Linked DNA regions of Homo sapiens: region 1 is linked to region 2. Evidence: promoter capture Hi-C in human tissues and cell types (Jung and others, 2019). All regions are on one chromosome and are shown on one strand. Each heading gives the region's core, a stretch centred on a gene start or on the middle of the fragment in contact. The rest is flanking DNA. Distances are from core to core; before and after follow the strand shown.

Evidence for each region. The method cuts DNA at HindIII sites, captures the fragments that hold promoters and counts their contacts. A contact is called where the count stands out against the background at its distance.
Region 1: a fragment that was not itself captured here is called in contact with the fragment with the promoter of B3GNT9 in region 2 in 4 of the 25 tissues and cell types used here (aorta, hippocampus, mesenchymal stem cells and 1 more).

The regions. Positions count from the first base shown.
Region 1 is chr16:67,032,470-67,039,815 of GRCh38, reverse strand. CBFB (core-binding factor subunit beta) reads right to left here. Exons shown (of 6, transcript NM_022845.3): 3 at 3,061-3,177. Among named protein-coding and RNA genes, the nearest start is that of CBFB, 7.0 kb to the right of the region's middle. The HindIII fragment of the contact is 6,179 bases long and covers 2,882-7,346 here.
Region 2 is chr16:67,145,998-67,152,781 of GRCh38, reverse strand. B3GNT9 (UDP-GlcNAc:betaGal beta-1,3-N-acetylglucosaminyltransferase 9) reads left to right here and starts at 1,784. Exons shown (of 2, transcript NM_033309.3): 1 at 1,784-1,917; 2 at 2,111-4,678. The coding sequence starts at 2,297. The coding sequence ends at 3,505. It overlaps PHAF1 (phagophore assembly factor 1), which reads right to left. Exons shown (of 16, transcript NM_025187.5): 15 at 6,432-6,504; 16 at 4,238-5,737. The coding sequence ends at 5,651. RefSeq lists silencers at 1,829-1,988, 1,999-2,428. The HindIII fragment of the contact is 9,280 bases long and covers 1-1,806 here.

The sequences.
Region 1 (7,346 bases), core at 4,722-7,221, 120 kb after region 2:
ACCACAACAGCAGAGTTACAGAGATGAGTAGTTGTGACAGAGACTGAAAGCCTGCAAAACTGAAAACATTTACATTTGTCCCTTCACAGAAAAAAAAACTTCTAAAACCAGTATTAATAAAATGTACATTTCCTGATAGCCTGCATAGTTCTATCACTCTTCCTAATAGAATTAAAAACATATCTTTTTAATACATTCATGTATTGCTTTAACAACGTTACAGCCTAAAATGGATCACATATATGACAGTGGTCTTGTAAGATTATAATGAATCTGAAAAATTCCTATTGCCTAGTGACATCATAGCCATTTTAACATTGCAGTGCAATTGCTTAATTTTTATAGATTTAGTGCGGCCTAAGCATACTATGTTTATATAATCTACAGAATCACATTCATTCACCACTTACTCAACTGACTGACCCAGAGCAACTTCCAGTCCTGCAAGCTCCATTCAAAGTAAGTGCCCTATACAGGTATACCATTTTTTAAATACTGTATTTTTACCATATCTTTTCTATGTTTAGATACATCAAGATACACAAATACTTACCAAATTGTGTTACAGTTGACTACAGTATTCAGTACGGTAACATGCTGTACAGTACAGGTTTGTAGCCTAGGAGCAACAGACTATACCAGATAGCCTAAGTGTGTAGTAGGCTATACCATCTAGATCTGTGTAAGTACACTCTATATATACACAATGATAAAAATCACCCAGCAACACATTTCCCAGAACATATCCCTACCATTAAGTGACACATGACTGTACTAGAATAAACCATCTCACATTTTTGTTATTTTTGGTCATATAACTAAAAACATCTCAATGGTTTAAGTCCAAGGATTATGTGGTCTTCACACTAGTGAAGCAGTATCATTAAATTAATTCAAGCAAACTTAATTTCTGGTAGAGTTAACAACCCATTTACTAGTTATTAAATACCGGAAGACTTCAGTAACACTGAGATGTTGCCCTTGAAGTCTTAAAATAGTTTTGGGCTAAAGCTGACAAAAAACAAATTTTTTTTTTTTTTGGTTTACGTCTTTAGTATCTGAGCTACCATGTTAAACAAACTTTAAGGAAGTATTCAAACAAGAAAAAAAATAATTTCTTCATTTAGTCACACATACACGCACCAGAAGCACAAAAAAACCAATAATCGTACAAGGACTTCTCAAATTCTTCCTTATATATTGTGTAAGAATTACCAAATAGTAAAATCTGGAACATTCACTTTTAATTTTCCAAGCAAACAAGCTAATACACAGGAAAGCAAACTGCTTGCTTAGTACTCATTTTTTTAAATCTTATAATCTGTTTTCCCTTTTCTAATCCAAAGATTGTTTTGTCACGCACAAAAGATCAAATCTAATTCTACAGAATTGGAGAAAACAAAAAATTCATTTTATATATACATATATATGTATATACATACACACATATACGTATATACACACACATATATACATATATACACACACATATACGTATATATACACATATATACGTGTATATATATATATACACACAAGATTAAATTAAATATTTCTCAAAGGAATATTTAGACATTTCTCACATTTTACATAAATGTGGCAGGTTATGCTATTCATGATGACACTTAGAAAATTAATTTAGTAAGTTGATAGAAACGGGTACAAAAACACACTGCAAAACAAACACACACAAAAAAAGTATGAAACTGGATCCAAAAGGGTGTTTTGAGTATAAAACTATATTTAAAAGAGGGTTTCTTCTTTAAAAATTTTATTCTAGAAGTCAACTCCTTGACTTCTCAATCAAGAATCAACCAATCCAAGATGCTATTCATTAAAATTTACCAGGCCAGGTGCAGTAGCTCACTCCTATAATCCCACCACTTTGGGAGGCAGAGGCAGGTGGATCACATGGTCAGGAGTTCAAGACCAGCCTGACCAATATGGGGAAACCCTGTCTCTACTAAAAATACAAAAAAATTAGCCAGGCGTGGTGGCGCACACCTGTAATCCCAGCTACTCAGGAGGCTGAGGCAGGAGAATAGCTTAAAACCCAGGAGGTGGAGGTTGCTGTGAGCCAAGATCACACCACTGCACTCCAGCCTGGGCAACAGAGGGAGACTCCATCTCAAAAAAAAAAAAAAAAAAATTACCAAAATCATAATACATTTAACGTAGACCTGAAATAAGGCTCTCAGCTTAAACATTTTACCTATATTTTTGTATCTTTAACCTAAACTTCTAACATCGAAACTGTAAGACATGTTCCCAGAAACTTTTTCTCAAAACAAAAAAAAAGTATTTCCAAGTTAAAGTTTTCACATTGTTTTTCTCAAATGTAAATTTGCTGTTAATGGAATTAGAAAGTTACCTATGAGCTATTTCTAAATACTATTAATTTTTAAACCTAGAGAGCTTTTTTCCGTTTTCCTCTTGTTTTATTTTTATAGCACTATACTTACATATATTTTTGTAAACAAAATATATCTCCTCAAACTTTTAAAGAAATTGTTATGTTACTTTCCTTAAGGGTTAGAATGTTCTATGACAAATATTATGTACATGAAATTAGGAATGGAGTGATACAAAAGTTTAACAGTGGTTTTAAAAAATTATATTGGCCGGGCACAGTGGCTCACGCCTGTAATCCCAACACTTTGGGAGGCAGAGGTGGGCGGATCACAAGGTCAGGAGTTCGAGACCAGCCTGGCCAACATGGTGAAACCCCATCTCCACTAAAAATACAAAAATTAGTCAGATGTGGTGGCGGGTACCTGTAATCCCAGCTACTCAGGAGGCTGAGGCAGGAGAATCGCTTGAAACTGGAAGGCGGAGATTGCAGTGAACCAACATCACGCCACTGCACTCCAGCCTGGGCAACAAGAGCGAAACGCCATTAAAAAAAAAAAATTATATTACATCCTTATAACATGGAATGAAAACAAATCTGAGCATATGCTGGTATAATCAGATCTGTGATCTTTATTAAAATGTAAATTACCAGATAATCTCTAACAAAACAACCCACAGTATTTTAAATTGCAAAGAAATGTTTCCTACCTTGCCTGCTTCTCTTTCTAAGTCGACATACTCTCGGCTAGGTGTTTGTCGCTGTTCTCCCTGCCAGCTGGCCGGAAAAAACTGGAGAGACAGATTGGTTCCTGTGGCCACAAAAGCCTTTTAGAAAAATCAATACAAACAGGATCAGGAGCAGGACATTACATAAATTATGCAAGCAGTCATTTATTTTTACATCAGTTTATGTCTTAAGCCAGGCAGCACAGAGAATACTTAAAAGTAAAAAAAAACATGCACTCATCATTTTTCTTAAGTATTAAGTTACAAACATCTGATTCCATTTTGAGGACATTTGCCATTGGCTGCTTAAGTATAAAATCAGACATGGAATCAATACTTTCTTTCAGGTCATTTTTTGCTGACGTTAGGATCTCACACTGCTAATGTCTAACCAGAAGCCACTATCCATCTCTGCATTTAAAAACTTCTATTTTTAAATGTAAAAATCACTCAAAATCTAAAGATTTTGAATTTTAAAGAATACCACAATTTAAAATTGTATAAATGAGACACTTTAATTTTCCTTGATTTCCCTTGCTGAAACACTGCATAGCAGGCAGTACATAAAAAATGCACTTGGAATTGTCTCTCCTCTGATAAACCATACATTGGCATGGGATGTGACAGTACTCTCTAAAACCCTAGATGATTTTTAAAAATATGTCTTTTCTCACATTTGACTTTAGGAGAACTTGGTCTGACTACAACAAAGAGAAAAGTATTCATCTAATAAATATTTATAGATTAGATTTATAAATATAAAAGATTTGGATGTTAGAGCTCAACAGATGCAACAATCTAAAACCACTTCAATAAAGTGTCATTTTATGTAGGCCTTGAGCAAGTTACCTCTATATTTCCCTCAGGCAAAAAACAAAGACATTACCCCTTTCCCAAAGGAAATTAAGAAAAAAAGAAGTAAAAGCATTTTTGAAAAAATACATTTTTCATCATCTAAATGTAAACTCTTCTTTGCTGAAACCAGAAAAAGTTTTTTGTTTGGTTTATTCTACTAATTAAGTTCTGAAGCATAATTGGTTTCCATGCATAGAGTCTTCATCTCAAATCAAGAGGTTCACATTTGGGGCAATTTGTTTAAAGCCATCAACCAAGTTAGCTATCCAATAGTTCCCCTGATGGTTAACAGCTTAGATTCTTTAGAGGTAAAAATTATACTTCCTATTTCTATTACTGGCACTGTCGGTACACTTGTCAACCTAAATGCTAAATCTCTAAACCTCTCTGATGGCATTTCCCTAATCAACTGGGGTACCATTTTCATGTGGTAAATGTTTTATATCCATAGAAACTGAACTAACATCAATATTACAACATCATTTTAAAAAATCTTTCAGGCCAGGAGCAGTGGTTCACACTCGTAATCCCAGCCCTTTGGGAGGCAAGGCAGGTAGACCATCTGAGGTCAGGAGTACAAGACCAGCCTGGCCAACATGGTGAAACCCTGTCTCTACTAAAAATACAAAAAATTAGCTGGGCATGGTGGCAGACGCCTGTAATCCCAGCTACTTGGGAGGATGAGGCAGGAGAATCACTTGAACCTGGGAGGCAGAGGTTGCATGCAGTCAGCCGAGATTGCACCACTGTGCTCCAGCCTGGACAACAAGGCGAGACTCCATCACAAAAACAAAAAACAAAAAAAACTTCCCATGTACTACGAGCATAAATCTTAACAAAAAACCCCCCAACACTAGTTAAAAAAAAAAAAAGTTTCTGGGAGGGAAACTGCCCAGGCTGTACGACCTGAAGCATAATTCAGTTTTCTCACAAATCAATTATTTGTAAAGTGCTTAAAACAGTACCAAGTAAATGCTATGAAAGTGTCTGCTGAATAATATGATAAATAACTTTAAGCTCAACAAGAAAGCCAACTTTTTCAGCTTCAGATAATGAAATTCTCAGAGCAGAGTGGTGGCAGAAAAGACACAGCCCATGAACGACTGCCCCGTGTCAAAATCCCTGTGGCTTGTTTCTTCAGTATTCACGTAGTAGCAAATCCTTCCACCTCCAGTGTACCCCAAATCAGTTCTGTGCTAAGACACTCTGCAGATCGTATTACCTCATCTCCTGTCTTGATGCCAACCTCAGAAGAGATTTCCTGCTTCATCACTATATGTCCATTATCTCATAAAGATCCCTCTCTGAGACAGAAGTGGTAAACACAGATCATTCTAGAATAACATTTTCCAAACTTATGTGACCATGGAATTCTTTTAATGAAATACCTACATATAGGTAAGAGTTGGAAAAAGTCTGTTCCAAAATATTAATATGGTGTCAACATCGTCATAGGAAAATAAAGACGAAAATAAACAAAATGAAAACATTAAAATGCTACACTAGTATGACGCCTATATTTAAGATTTCCAGGTTGTCTTATGCTTTGTAGGTTTCACAAATTATAAAATAGCACACCTTGTGCCAATCCAACATACTTTTTACCATTCAATCTTTAGAATTAGAAATATGTATTAGTTTTTACTCTTCTCACCACAGAGTAACCATACTTCTTATAAATATTTTTTCTTTATTTGATTATTAGTGTTGAAGACGTCTCCAACATTCTTAACTACATAAGAATTGGTAAGAATAGGCCGGGTGCAGTGGCTCAAGCCTGTAATCCCAGCACTTTGGGAGGCCAACACAGGCAGATCACGAAGTCAGAAGTTTAACACCAGTCTGGCCAATATAGTGAAACCCCACCTCTACTAAAAATACAAAAAATTAGCCGGGTGTGGTGGTGTGCGCCTGTAATCCTAGCTACTCGGGAGGCTGAGGCAGGAGAATCGTGTGAACCCAGGAGGCAGAGGTTGCAGTGAGCCGAGAGCCAAGATCGTGCCATTGCACTCCAGCCTAGCCGACAGTGCAAGACGCCGTCTCAAAAAAAAAAAAAAAAAAAACAACGGTGAAACTCTGTCTCTACTAAAAATACAAAAACAAATTAGCCGGGTGTGGTGGCAGGCGACTGTAGTCCCAGTTACTCGGGAGGCTGAAGCGGGAGAATGGCGTGAACCCAGGAGGCGGAGCTTGCAGTGAGCCGAGATCGTGCCACTGCACTCCAGCCTGGGCGACAGAGCAAGACTCCGTCTCAAAAAAAAAAAAAAAAGAATTGATAAGAATAAATCAAGGCTGGGTGCAGTGGCTCACTGAGGCAGGCACATCACTTGAGGCCAGCAGTTGGAGACCAGCCTGGCCAACATGGTGAAACCCATCTCTACTAAAAATACAAAAACCAGCCAGGCGTGGTGGCAGGCGCCTGTAATCCCAGCAAGTCAGGAGGCTGAAGCAGGAGGTGGAGGTTGCAGTGAACGGAGATGGCACCACTGCACTCCAGCCAGAGTGACAGAGTAAGATCCAGTCTCAAAAAAGAATAAATCAGATTCTACTACAGATTCTTCGACCTGTGTTCACTTTTATTTAATGCTGATTGGGTTTTACAGTTAAAAACTCAATTGGCATAAAATAAGGAGGCTGATTGAGTTTTATAGTTAAAGAGAGATGATCAACACAGCCCTTAAATTATTTCACATCTAAATGCAAAATGAGGCTGGGAGTGGTGGCTCACGCCTGTAATCCCAGCACTTTGGGAGGCCGAGGTCGGTGGATCACCTGAGGTCAGGAGTTTGAGACCAGCCTGGCAAACATGGTGAAACTCCGTCTCTACTAAAAATACAAAAATTAGCTGGGCATGGTGGTATACGCCTGTAATTCCAGCTACTCAGGAGGCTGGGTCAAGACAATCACTTGAACATGGGGGACGGAGGTTGCACTGAGCCAAGATCATGCCACTGCACTCCAGCCTGGGCAACAGCAAAATGAATTCTTCATTAACCTCACTGATACATCAAGAAGATGTTCCAAATAAGAAGAGGACAACTGGGGCAGGAGAAAGGTTGGGAATAGTTTTGAGAACTATGGATATCCTTGCCATTTATGGCTGCTGTCAAAACAGGCAAAATAATGCCTTTTTCCACAGCCAAATAGGAAGAAACCCAGCCTGTTCATAAGTCATGAGATAAATTTCAGGCATTAAATTAAGCAGCCTCTAAATTCAAATAATCAAGTACCTCTGATATAAAAGGTATTGTGAAAAATAGCTGTATCCAGAGGGGTTTATACAAAATTAATGAGGTCTCTACCCTCTAGGAGCTAAGGATCCTGTAATTAAATGTGGGTTAACACTGAATTAAAGGAGGGAAACTAGAAAGAGAGAAAACTAGGAAACGTGAAATTCCTCTCCAAATACCAAT
Region 2 (6,784 bases), core at 535-3,034:
GAGGCCGCGGAGAAAGCTGGAGCAGAGGACTCCTGATTACTTTGTGACCAAAAAGAGTAAGGCTCAGGGTGGAGATTTGGCTTTTTTTTTTTTTTTTTTTTTTGGAGAGAGTCTCACTCTGTTGCCAGGTTGGAGTGCAGTGGCACGATCTCGGCTCATTGCAGCCTTCGTCTCCCGGGTTCAAGTGATTTTCCTGCCTCAGCCTCCCAAGTACCTGGGATTACAGGCACGTGCCACCATACCTGGCTAATTTTTGTATTTTTAATAGAGACAGGGTTTCTCCATGTTGGCCAGGCTGGTCTCAAACTCCTGGCCTCAAGTGATCCACCTGCCTTGGCCTCCCAAAGTGTTGGGATTACAGGAGTAAGCCACCACGACTGGCCTTTTTTTTTTTTTGAGACAGTCTCGCTCTGTTGCCCAGGATGGAGTGCAGTGGTGTGTTCTTGGCTCACTGCAACCTCCACCTTCCAGGTTCAAGCAATTCTCCTGCCTCAGCCCTCTAAGTAGCTGGGATTACAGGTGCCCACCACCATGTCTAGCTAATTTTTGTATTTTTAGTAGAGATGGGGGTTTCACCACGTTGGCCAGGCTGGTCTTGACTTCCTGACCTCAAGTGATCCACTCACCTCAGCCTCCCAAAGTGTTGAGGTTACAGGCATAAGCCACCACACCCAGCCAGAGAGGTGGCTTTTTAAGATTGAACATTGGTGGGAAGAAGCCGTCAGGAGCAGATATAGCCCTTGGACAGAGGATGGGGCTGGGTTCTTAAGAGACCAGTAGAGGCTGTCTATTCCAGGCTCCACCACATGGGCTGGGACCAAGAAAGAGAGAGCTGGCAGCTGAGCTGCGCAAGGACTTAGCTCTCCATTGCAGAGCACCTCTGTCCACCTGCATCCCAGAGCAATCCTTTAGCCAAGGCCTCCGCCAGGAGTCTTCCCAAGCTGTCCCCATCCTTGCCAGCCCTGTCTGACCTGCAGCTGCACAGGCCTGATCATTTCTACCTGCAGTAGGCTATGCTGGGGACCAGGGGACTCAGAACTGCACCTGGCTTGGGCTCAGGTCCATTAGCCCCCGGGGAGACAGGCTGAAGTGCTTGCCTGTGAAATTAAAGCAGACTGGGTTGGCCCCCTGTTCTGTATCCCAGTGGATGAATGAGCGGGGCAAGGACAGATAAAATAATCCTGGCCTGAATTTCAGAAGACCTGGGGGCAGAGCTTTCTGGCCTTTGGATCCTGGGCAAGTCACTTAACTCCCCGAAGAGCCCCCCAGTGTCCCCATCTGGGCATGAATGAGAGCTGCTGGCAGAGTTGCCCTGAGGATTGGGTGGGCTGCCTTGTTTGTCCCGTGCGTGTGTTTACTGGGGGTGGGGAGCATGGCAGAACCAGGAGTAAGAAGACAGCCATGTGTCTCGGGGGCAGCGTATGCACCCTGCCTGATGGAATCAGGGCTGCTGAGGAGAGGCCCGCCCGGGATGGTGGCCAGGTTCATGCGCATTTGGAACCGGCCTGCTCAGGGGCTCCTAGCAGCCCAGGCTCCGCCCCACTCCAGAGACGCGGGAGTGGGGAGTGGATAGTTGGGGGAGCTAACCAGGGGAGTTGATGCTTCTTCCCAATCCCCAGAAAGGCGAATTTGGGGTGTGAGCACCCAGACCAGCCCTTCCCAGAGGGACTGAGAGTGAGGAGGCTCCCTCTCAGGGATTAGTCCCCACTCTGAGGCCGGAGTGCTCCTGGCGCCGGGGCGGAGCTGAGCTCCAGAAGTCTGGGCGCGCACAGCTGGAGGGTCACGTGGCACGGCACCGGTCCCCCTTCCTGCCAACGCTGCATTTGGCTCGGGCCCGGTCCATGGCGGCCCCTCGGACCCTGCGCTGAGCCCCGGAGGCCAGGGCGTCCGGGGCTGCGCCACTTCCGAGGGCCGAGCGTGAGTGTCGGGACCCCAGGGCCCGACATTGAGGGGATGGCAGGGTGGAAGGGATTCGGCCTCAGCGCGAGGGAGGCGGGCGGGGGAGGGGCCGAGGCTCCCAGTCTCCCTGCCCGGCCCTGGGTCGCAGTCCTGGGCCGGAGCTGAGGCCGCGGGGGAGTTGGCTACATGGGTGAACTTCTTGTCCCTTCAGGCTGCCGGTCCCGGCGGTGCGACACGGCCGGGAGGAGGAGAACAACGCAAGGGGCTCAACCGTCGGTCGCTGGAGCCCCCCCCGGGGCGTGGCCTCCCGCCCCCTCAGCTGGGGAGGGCGGGGCTCGCTGCCCCCTGCTGCCGACTGCGACCCTTACAGGGGAGGGAGGGCGCAGGCCGCGCGGAGATGAGGAGGAGGCTGCGCCTACGCAGGGACGCATTGCTCACGCTGCTCCTTGGCGCCTCCCTGGGCCTCTTACTCTATGCGCAGCGCGACGGCGCGGCCCCGACGGCGAGCGCGCCGCGAGGGCGAGGGAGGGCGGCACCGAGGCCCACCCCCGGACCCCGCGCGTTCCAGTTACCCGACGCGGGTGCAGCCCCGCCGGCCTACGAAGGGGACACACCGGCGCCGCCCACGCCTACGGGACCCTTTGACTTCGCCCGCTATTTGCGCGCCAAGGACCAGCGGCGGTTTCCACTGCTCATTAACCAGCCGCACAAGTGCCGCGGCGACGGCGCACCCGGTGGCCGCCCGGACCTGCTTATTGCTGTCAAGTCGGTGGCAGAGGACTTCGAGCGGCGCCAAGCCGTGCGCCAGACGTGGGGCGCGGAGGGTCGCGTGCAGGGGGCGCTGGTGCGCCGCGTGTTCTTGCTGGGCGTGCCCAGGGGCGCAGGCTCGGGCGGGGCCGACGAAGTTGGGGAGGGCGCGCGAACCCACTGGCGCGCCCTGCTGCGGGCCGAGAGCCTTGCGTATGCGGACATCCTGCTCTGGGCCTTCGACGACACCTTTTTTAACCTAACGCTCAAGGAGATCCACTTTCTAGCCTGGGCCTCAGCTTTCTGCCCCGACGTGCGCTTCGTTTTTAAGGGCGACGCAGATGTGTTCGTGAACGTGGGAAATCTCCTGGAGTTCCTGGCGCCGCGGGACCCGGCGCAAGACCTGCTTGCTGGTGACGTAATTGTGCATGCGCGGCCCATCCGCACGCGGGCTAGCAAGTACTACATCCCCGAGGCCGTGTACGGCCTGCCCGCCTATCCGGCCTACGCGGGCGGCGGTGGCTTTGTGCTTTCCGGGGCCACGCTGCACCGCCTGGCTGGCGCCTGTGCGCAGGTCGAGCTCTTCCCCATCGACGACGTCTTTCTGGGCATGTGTCTGCAGCGCCTGCGGCTCACGCCCGAGCCTCACCCTGCCTTCCGCACCTTTGGCATCCCCCAGCCTTCAGCCGCGCCGCATTTGAGCACCTTCGACCCCTGCTTTTACCGTGAGCTGGTTGTAGTGCACGGGCTCTCGGCCGCTGACATCTGGCTTATGTGGCGCCTGCTGCACGGGCCGCATGGGCCAGCCTGTGCGCATCCACAGCCTGTCGCTGCAGGCCCCTTCCAATGGGACTCCTAGCTCCCCACTACAGCCCCAAGCTCCTAACTCAGACCCAGAATGGAGCCGGTTTCCCAGATTATTGCCGTGTATGTGGTTCTTCCCTGATCACCAGGTGCCTGTCTCCACAGGATCCCAGGGGATGGGGGTTAAGCTTGGCTCCTGGCGGTCCACCCTGCTGGAACCAGTTGAAACCCGTGTAATGGTGACCCTTTGAGCGAGCCAAGGCTGGGTGGTAGATGACCATCTCTTGTCCAACAGGTCCCAGAGCAGTGGATATGTCTGGTCCTCCTAGTAGCACAGAGGTGTGTTCTGGTGTGGTGGCAGGGACTTAGGGAATCCTACCACTCTGCTGGATTTGGAACCCCCTAGGCTGACGCGGACGTATGCAGAGGCTCTCAAGGCCAGGCCCCACAGGGAGGTGGAGGGGCTCCGGCCGCCACAGCCTGAATTCATGAACCTGGCAGGCACTTTGCCATAGCTCATCTGAAAACAGATATTATGCTTCCCACAACCTCTCCTGGGCCCAGGTGTGGCTGAGCACCAGGGATGGAGCCACACATAAGGGACAAATGAGTGCACGGTCCTACCTAGTCTTTCCTCACCTCCTGAACTCACACAACAATGCCAGTCTCCCACTGGAGGCTGTATCCCCTCAGAGGAGCCAAGGAATGTCTTCCCCTGAGATGCCACCACTATTAATTTCCCCATATGCTTCAACCACCCCCTTGCTCAAAAAACCAATACCCACACTTACCTTAATACAAACATCCCAGCAACAGCACATGGCAGGCCATTGCTGAGGGCACAGGTGCTTTATTGGAGAGGGGATGTGGGCAGGGGATAAGGAAGGTTCCCCCATTCCAGGAGGATGGGAACAGTCCTGGCTGCCCCTGACAGTGGGGATATGCAAGGGGCTCTGGCCAGGCCACAGTCCAAATGGGAAGACACCAGTCAGTCACAAAAGTCGGGAGCGCCACACAAACCTGGCTATAAGGCCCAGGAACCATATAGGAGCCTGAGACAGGTCCCCTGCACATTCATCATTAAACTATACAGGATGAGGCTGTACATGAGTTAATTACAAAAGAGTCATATTTACAAAAATCTGTACACACATTTGAAAAACTCACAAAATTGTCATCTATGTATCACAAGTTGCTAGACCAAAATATTAAAAATGGGATAAAATTATACATTTTTCTTCTCAGTTCTTTTCAAAAGGATTAATATTTTTAAAGCACATATATGCTACTTTCCATTAGCAAGACCCATGAAGGGACTGAGCAGCCCAGCCTTCCTTGAGCCCCCAGAGGCTTTGAGCCATGAAATGGCCCAGCCAGGGGCCAGTGCCCAGGGTTGGGGCAGAGAGCCAGCCCACAGTGCAGAACAGAATGCTGAAACACAACAAAAGTAGGAAGATGTCTTTGGCTAAAACTTTGGCATTAAATAAAAGAGGCAAACAGGATGGAAACATGCAGCCCTGCCAGCCAGGATGGGGCAGAGCAGGGGCACAGGCAATCTTGAAAGCTGACTCCAACAGGGGTGAGAACCAGGCCTGGGCATGTACCTGGATGGTAGAAAGCTGTGTTTCAACCAGTTTGGTGTGCCCAGGCAGGGAGCGCGTGCAAGAAAGGAACAGGGAAGGGCAGGTGGGCCACCCTGGCCACAGCCAGCTCATCAAGTAACTAAAGTGGATGTAGTGCAAATGTCGCAACCAAGTACTATGGACACGCTACCTGCTTGCCTTAAGGGTCATGTGGCAATGTGGAGCCAAAGGCAGGACCTTGTCCTTATCCTGGGTGCCTGTGTCCTCAGTCACAGAAAGAGCCCCAAGTCTTCCCAATGTGCATGGGACAAGGGTTGACCTCTCCTGCCTCCTTGTTAGTTGAGAGCTCCTGGGTCCAGGAATCAAGGCTCAAACTTTGTGCTTCTCTTTGCAGTCTGTGTCCCCTGCTGGCACCAGCAGGCCAAAGATGGACAGAAGAATATCTGGGCCACTCAGCCCATGGCAGAGCACCCAGCCTGAGCCCAACCTCAGAACATCACAACAGCCCTTCAGCACTGGCCAGGTGTCCAAGAAAACCCACAGGGTGGTACAGAGGCCCACTGAGCAGGATGTGATGCACAGTTCCACGGGACAGAGGGGCATGGGTGGTGGTGTCCCTAGGGGAGTTCCGCTGTTCTCAGGTGGCTACCAGGCCTGGGGGGGCCATACAGGGTCACCGAGGCAATGTGGTTGTTCTGCATGACCTGGTGTGAGAAGAGGACAGTGGGTCAAGGGGGAGAGGTAAAGGGATGTAGGCAGATCCTGTGCATGAGGGCTGGAGGTTGTGTGACATACCTGCACCTAATGGCTGGGTTTCCCGACTCCTCAACCTCCCCTGGTTCATGCTAAAGGCCCCCCTCTGCCTGAGATCTGCCTGTTTCTCAATGGTTACACACAGCCTTTACCATGGCCACGTGTCCAGTCCTTCTGGAACTGTTAAGTGTCTGCTGGAGATACTGCATCCACAGGGAAAACAAGGGCAGCTTGCTGTTCTCCCAAGTCAGCAGGGCCTCCAGAGCCACTCACTCCCCTACAATGCATTTGTTCACATGCCACTGGAGGGCCCCCAACACCCTCTGCTGGGCCCCACTTGCCCTGTGGTTCCCTTCCCTGCTATAATCATGTTGTCAGATAGAAACTTGGGATCCGTTACCTCCCATCTTGTTGGACACAGACCACTGCTTCGGCCTCTGTGACCCCAGATTTCTCAACATCATTTCTGAACCTTCATTGTTAAGTGTGGGGAGGCCAGGTATGCAGCAGACACGGTTGCTGAAGAAGGATGAATCTGCCCACTATGGCAGTGATGCCCTCCCCAATTTCCCTCCATCATTCACCTGGCCCTGCCATGACCAGCAACCCCCCAGGCAGTTTATTTCTAGGGCTTCCACAGCTTACCTCAAAGATCATTCGCTGAAGACCAAAGCAGAATGTGGAACCAAATGGGTTGGTGTTGTTTGGGGAGGAAGACCTGAGGCCAAAGAATTCAGAATTAGAGAGGCAGACAGAGGCCACGGCCTTAAAGCAAGGGATCCAGTCTTTTCTGGGGTATGGGATACTGGCCAGTAGTCTCTCATGGCTGTGAGTGTCTGTCTGTTTCCCACACAGGCCTGCAAGATCCTAGGGGTAGGGATGGTCTCACTCAACTCAGAATTATACATACAGAGCCCAACAGGACAAAAAAGTTACTGTGGAACTGGACTAGGGTGGCGAGGAGTCAAGAGGGCCCTCTTGAGTGAGAGAATCTCAGG